Regions from separate parts of the Homo sapiens genome. Here region 1 is linked to region 2. Evidence: promoter capture Hi-C in 16 types of primary human blood cells and fetal thymus (Javierre and others, 2016). All regions are on one chromosome and are shown on one strand. Each heading gives the region's core, a stretch centred on a gene start or on the middle of the fragment in contact. The rest is flanking DNA. Distances are from core to core; before and after follow the strand shown.

The links. The method cuts DNA at HindIII sites, captures the fragments that hold promoters and counts their contacts. A CHiCAGO score of 5 or more calls a contact.
Region 1: a contact is called between a fragment that was not itself captured here and the fragment with the promoter of CARMIL3 in region 2, in 1 of 17 cell types (erythroblasts). The highest score is 5.4, in erythroblasts.

What each region holds. Positions count from the first base shown.
Region 1 is chr14:23,604,854-23,608,301 of GRCh38, forward strand. No RefSeq gene overlaps it. Among named protein-coding and RNA genes, the nearest start is that of JPH4, 28 kb to the left of the region's middle. RefSeq lists an enhancer at 1,336-1,545. The HindIII fragment of the contact is 2,995 bases long and covers 610-3,448 here.
Region 2 is chr14:24,050,192-24,053,636 of GRCh38, forward strand. CARMIL3 (capping protein regulator and myosin 1 linker 3) reads left to right here and starts at 1,818. Exons shown (of 40, transcript NM_138360.4): 1 at 1,818-2,002. The coding sequence starts at 1,963. It also overlaps the pseudogene DHRS4L1. RefSeq lists silencers at 1,611-1,910, 2,181-2,270, 2,291-2,460 and an enhancer at 2,476-3,175. The HindIII fragment of the contact is 12,786 bases long and covers 1-3,445 here.

The DNA of each region.
Region 1 (3,448 bases), core at 857-3,356, 450 kb before region 2:
ACTTCTATGTCATTCTGTCACTAAGAATGACTTAACCTCCTGGGAATGCACCCCAGTAGGTCCCAGCCTTATTTTACCCAGCCCCTATTCAAGATGGAATTGCTCTGCTTCAAACACCTCTGATAATACCTCACAGGTTGTTAAGATAATTATGTGGGAAAGTACCTGAGGATGTGCACCACCAGGACTGGTCTAGGAGTTCTTGGACCTGGCCTCCCTTCATTCCTTTCCTCTAGCTCCAGGGAGTTGGTGGTTATGGAGCTACTATGTGGCTCTCTGGCAAAGTTTCTGGGCTCAGAGCCTCAATCCCCAAGCACTGTGGCCTCTCAGAGCCTTTGGCTTGGTGCTTCCAGTCCCCAGTACTCTCCCTGGGGCTCTGGGGTAGGAGGCTGAATGCCAGGCCAGAGACCCCTTTGAGTCCTCATGGCTGGCATCTCCAGGCTGGGGAAGATGGAGAGGGTGCTTGTTTCCCGATCTTTGCAGAGTGGAAACTGGCTCAAGTCCCACACCCTGACTCAGCCACCCAATGTCTTCTGCTTCAAGGTTTCATTCTTTCTGGATGCCATTACCTGTCAGGAAAGGGGACAGGGATTGGCTATAGGTACTTCAAGCTTAAGCCTTGCATTGATTCACATAGGGCCTTAGCTTGCCAGAAAAAAAGGGCCCTGCTTAGAGGTGAATGTACAGGTGTTGAAGATGACATATCGACTCCCTGCACAATTCTGCCAACCCTAGCCCTGATTGTCTTCACTTGTCTACACACAGAGGCTAGGTTGTCAGTCCTGACCCAACTGAAACCAGTGATTCTTGACAGTAGAGAAGATCTTTTCTCTGGCAGGGCATATATTCCAATAGAGCTTCATAAATAGGAAAATCCACCAAGAGTACAATTATAAGAGGTGGAGAAAAGCCCACAGTTAGAGGATAAACTTGAAGGGGCCAACAAGAGAGATTTGTGCCAACAGCAGACATAGCTGTCTAGATACAATTAACAAAGGATTTGAGCTCCAAGCACTTATCAGAGACTCTCCCATGGCACTGCTCATTAAGTTTTATACATGGTAGTTGCTGACCGAATGACAGCACAAAAGACACAGACGGAAGGAAAAACACTGGGAGGAAGTGCTTGTGGAGGGAGACAGGCCTGTGTACAGCCTAGACTGTGGGACAGGTGGGAAGCATTGCAAACAGAAGGCATGGCAGGAAGCCCACTTATGCTGAACACGCACAAAGTCAGTGTCCCAGTCTTTGCGTGTCCCATGGCTATACCAACACATCCCAGGGTTGTCTGCCTTTTGAGTTTTCCCCGTGGCATGACACTCCTAATTCATGTTTAGGTTGTGGCCAACTCTGACTCACAGCTTTTCTTCTATTATTCTTGTACTCAGCCACTTGAGCACCAACCTACACTTGTGGGATATGACTTTCTAGCTCTATTTTTAGAAGAGTAACATCATTCTGAGAATGGAGGGGTCATCTTGCAGTTTCTTCTCCCCATAGTTGTCATGGTCAATCTTTTACATGAAAATTAGATGTGTCACTTCTGTGTTCAAACCCACTGCTCAGAGTAACAGCTAAGTCCTCATCGTGACTCAAAGCCTAACCCTCTCTGAGTTAGTTCCTATCCCTCTCTTTCAGCCTATTTACTCCAGGTACACTAAGCCTCCTTGCTGTCCCTCGAACTATGCCAAACACTCTCCTACCTCCTGCTTCTGCCTTGGTTTTTCCCACTGCCTGGAACATTCTTCACTCTCACTTATTTAAGCCTCTGCTCACTTGTCAACTCTTCAGAGAGGCCATCCTGATATGGGCCAGAGAAAAAAATCACTCACATCCTGCACTCCCTGTCCCCCTCACCTTGTTGTATTTTTCTTCAGAGCACTTCTCAGCACCTGCCATTTTTATGTCTACTTGTTTATTACCTGTCTCTCCCACAAGAATATAAGCACCTTGAAGGCATTTTTTTAACTCACTGCTGTATCAATACCACCTAGAGTAGTGCCTAGCACACAGGTGGTGGTGAATAAATATTTGCTGGATTAATTAATGTCATGAAGACGTTTAAAACACCCACAATCCTCTGTGCTCACAAGACAGCTCTTGGAGGGGCATCCCTGGTAATTCACCTGTGCTTGCTTACCCACAAGAATATCTGCAGGAGCAGGGAACTTCAGCCAGTGCCCAGGTGTGTTCTGTAATCAGAGGCAGGGCCAGGAAAGTGCAGTGTAGGGAGGGAGAGAGTCAGGAGGGAAGGTGGCTACCCCCGGGTTCCATGTGTTTGCCAACTGGGAGGATTGACAGTCCTGACACGGGCAGAGCCATCTCCATGCTTCTCTCCTGCATCACAAGGGACTGCCTCAGACCCTGCCTCTCACAAACTCTCACAAGAGGAGGCTGTGTCTTGTCTGCCTCCAGCTCCCGGGCCCCTGCCACCCCCTGAGGATGACTTCTGGAAGTTCCTCAGCTCATCACCCTCTTCGCAGGCATCCTCTTCACCTCTCAGCAGTGGCAACTGCTGCTCCCCAGGACCTTCTTCCTGAGCTTCTTTTCCCTTCAGTGTGGGGACACTCCTAATTTGCCTCTTCAGTCTTTGACTTCTCCCTTTTGGCTTCCTTTTCTTCTTCCCCTCCCTAAAATGGAAGGATTTCTGTGTCAGTCAGAGTCCAAGCAGGAAAACGATTCCATGCAAGGCATTTCTTACAGAAGGGATGTATTCAGGGAATTGACTACTCCAGTGTTGGAGGGTTGGAAGGGCAAATGGAGATGCTGCAGTGACCAGATATGGTAACTACAGGAGTTCCTTCTCAGGGCTGGAGGGACAGAAGAGAAGAAGTGGGGCCACCAGAGCCTCCAGGCTCAGCCTTGCCTGGCCCATGTTCAGACCACAGAATGAGGATGCATTGTGATGGGGTTGAGCCTCTGGGGCGCTGGTATCTCCAGGAGGTGCAGTTCACCTGCTGCCAGGAGTGTCTGAAGAATTGGGAGCTAGCACGGGCAACCTATTGCCCATAGGCCAAATCCAGCTGCCACCTGTTTCTCCATGGCCCACGAGCTAAGAATGTTCTTCACATTTTGGCCAGGCACGGGGCTCACGCCTGTAATCCCAGCACTTTGGGAGGCCGAGGCGGGTGGATGGTCTGAGGTCAGGAATTCGAGACCGGTCTGGCCAATGTGGCAAAATCCTGTTTCTACTAAAAATACAAAAAAAAAAAAAAATTAGCCAGTCATGGTGGTGCACACTTGTAGTCCCAGCTACTTGGGAAGCTGAGGCAGGAGAGTTGCTTGAACCCGGGAGGCAGAGGTTGCAGTGAGACGAGATTGCGCCACTCCACTCCAGACTGGGTGACAGAGCAAGAGTTCATCTCAAAAAACAAGCAAACAAAAAAAGAATATTCTTCATATTTTAAAAATGGCTGAAAATAAAACCGAAAAGGAAGATATATCTCAT
Region 2 (3,445 bases), core at 568-3,067:
TTGTTTTTCTTTGTCTTTTCTTTTCTTTTTTTGTTTAAGCCTCTCAAATGATTGCAAGGTACAGCTAGAATGGAGAAGCATTAATTCAGCCCTTCTAGGTTTGAGTTACTCTGCCCACCTCTAGAGCATTCTATGGCAGGCAGATTAAAGTGTCTCCTAACTATGCAGTCACTGATAAAATAAGAATTAGCACATTCTCACCAAATGATCCTGACTTTAAGGGACAAGTATAGATTCCTGAAAAAATTGTCTCTAAGTTGAACCTGTACAAATGGAATCATTTTAAACACACCATTTACTGTCACACAGACTCCCTGATACTTTAGTGTGTGCACATGTGAAACCATTTTTTTGAAGTATGAAATAATTACTATTTTACCTGTATAACTTTGGATTTTGGTGTCCTGAGCTCTCTAAAAAACAGTGTCTCTATAGTATTTGAATATTATGGGTAATGGTTTTTGCAGAGTACAGTATGCTTATACTAAATTATAACAGCATATCCTCATGGTAACCCTATTTGATAGGCGGAAAGTTTGTACACTGATCCTGAAAAGTTATCTGATAATTCTTGATTAAGCAAATTTCATTCCCCGTGTCCCAGGTGAGGGAGGCAGACCTGTTTGATTTTTACTCCCTTCCTTGCTTCCCCTATTCCCCAGGTTAGGCGAGCCAGAGGATTCTCTTGGCATCGTGTCTTTCCTGTGCTCTGAAGATGCCAGCTACCTCACTGGGGAAACAGTGATGGTGGGTGGAGGAACCCCGTCCCGCCTCTGAGGACCCGGAGACAGCCCACAGGCCAGAGTTGGGCTCTAGCTCCTGGTGCTGTTCCTGCATTCACCCACTGGCCTTTCCCACCTCTGCTCACCTTACTGTTCACCTCATCAAATCAGTTCTGCCCTGTGAAAAGATCCAGCCTTCCCTGCCGTCAAGGTGGTGTCTTACTCGGGATTCCTGCTGTTGTTGTGGCCTTGGGTAAAGGCCTCCCCTGAGAACACAGGACAGGCCTGCTGACAAGGCTGAGTCTACCTTGGCAAAGACCAAGATATTTTTTGCCCAGGCCACTGGGGAATTTGAGGGGAGATGAGAGAGAAGGAAGCTGGAGTGGAAGGAGCAGAGTTGCAAATTAACAACTTGCAAATGAGGTGCAAATAAAATGCAGATGATTGCGCGGCTTTGAATCGAATCGACGTTTTCTCAGTGCGGGGTGCTTAGCTGAGCAGAGAGCAGAAGTCTGGCCAGGCTGGATCTCTGGATCCCCCAGCCCTCCTCCCTGTCTCCAGGACCTGAGCGTGATGTTCAGGGGTGGAGGTGTCTGCAGAGCTGCCAACTGGAAGGAAGGTGGGACAGGAACTCCCAGGACGCCACGGGGATCCCCGAGGCAGGGCGAGTCGGGCGAGGGTGGGGAAGGAGGAACTCTCTAACACCTCCCCGCCCCTCGCCTCCCAGATCCAGCCATGCCCTCTCCCAGCATGGCCCTAGGTCCCGAGTCAGCAAGGACAAGCTGGAGGGGTCCTGAGCCGGTGGGGAATAGAGAAAGGCCCTGCAAGGTGCCCGGGCCCACAAACAAAAGAAATGGCTTCTGCCCACGGGCCCGAGGATTGAGTAGATGGAAAGCGGGGACGCTGCCCCCCGCCCCGAAGGCCCGGACACCGGGCGACGCACACCGGCCAGCTCACGCGGGAGCCAGCGAGAAGGGTCGGCGCGAGCGCGCGCGGGGTCTCACGCGGCTCGGCAGCGCGGAGCGCATGCTCAGTCCGGCAGCTCTCCCTGCTGGGCGGGGGAGCCGGCGCTCCGAGGCGGGGGGAGGAGCGCTCAAGCAGCCGCCCCTGACCGGAGCGGGCTCGGCCGCTGCTGCAGCGCTCAGCGCCCGGGCCCTGCTGAAGCCGGGTCTAGCATGTGCCGCGGCTCCCCGGCGGCGGCGGCGGCTCCTCTGCAGCAGCCTCAGCAGCAGCGGCCGCCATGGCCAAGCCCAGCGTGGAGCTCACCCGCGAGTTGCAAGGTACGAGGCTGCCTCGGTCTCTGGGACGCCCCGTCCGGGAGCATCCCAGACCCAGCGCGTTCCTCCCCGTGGTGCATCCCAGCCCGGTGTCTCACACCCCTCACCCCATGCATCCTGGCTCCAAGGCAGCCCCTGCATTCCAGTCCGGGCATCGCTGTCCCCGGAGCATCCTCCGCTGCCTGCCTCGCCTCACCCGGTCGGGACCTTCCTGTCCCGGAGCCGCCCGTCCCGCCCTTCGGTGACAGGTGCAGTTCCCTGGCGCTCCCTGGGGCTGACTCTCGGCGTTCCTAGCCCACCCTCGGCGAAGCGTCCAGTCTCCCATCCGGAGAGTCCCCGCTTCCCCGCCGGGCGGGGCCAAGCCCGCCCCTCCCTGCGATGGGAGCTGCCCCTGGTCCTGACCGCTGCGTGGCTTAACACCCTCCCTCCTCCCGGCCCCGCCCCGGAACTGGCCCTGAAGAGCCCCTTAGGAGCTGGGCAGCGCCCAGGCCAGTGGGGCAAAGAAAGGAGTCAGGGAAGAGGCCCTGGATTGGAGCTAAAACCAAGAGCAGGAGGGTCTCTGAGGCTCGCCTCCCACAGCCCCGTCCCAGCCTGCTTCCTTCTCGCTACCCACCACCCACACATCAAGGCTTCTCCCGTTTGCATGGTTCTCAGACCTAGCCCAAACCCAGGCCCGGCCACCCAGCACTGCCACAACCCTGACCCCCAGAGACGGGAGCACAGGCTAGCCCACGCAAAGCGCAGGATGCTCGTGGATACTCAGAGGCATGCTGCGCCGTGGCAATCTCCCACACCTGCACACACACACAGCACAATCATTAGACGTGTGTAAACACATCTTCACAGAGATGGCACCCCAGCACACGCGCGTGCACACACACACACACACACTATATCTGGGTGGTTCTGCCAGCAGATGGGTATGGGGCTCATTTAAACATTAATTCTTCTCCCCGCCCAACACACACAGAGGAAGTGTCTGGCTCTGTGCCCCTTCCACAGCATACTCATTCACACTTACCTGTCCCCACCAATGCCACACTCAGGCTCCCTGACATCTCCAGGAGGCATGCACACTCTCATAGTAAAGGCAGACACTCACACCCGGACCACCTAGAATATAGTCAAAGGGACACCCCACACCCCCACACAGTGACTCACTTTGTATGTGTCAATGGCTGTTGTAGTGCATGGGTTGGAAAAATTCTTCACACCCTCAGAAGTGTGAGACACACCCTCCCACAGACAGTCAGCAACCGTCCCCTGACTCAGGGACATCAGGAGCCGGAGTTTTCTCCACACCCTACTCCCTCTCTAATAGGAAGAGAAAAGTCAAAAAAGAGACAGTGTGAAAAGTCACCCAAGAAGGAATGCCCTCTGTCCCTGTCCTCCCTTCTTTGTCTCTCTGTTTCTCTCTTATCCCATTTGACCCTGACCCTGCCTCTA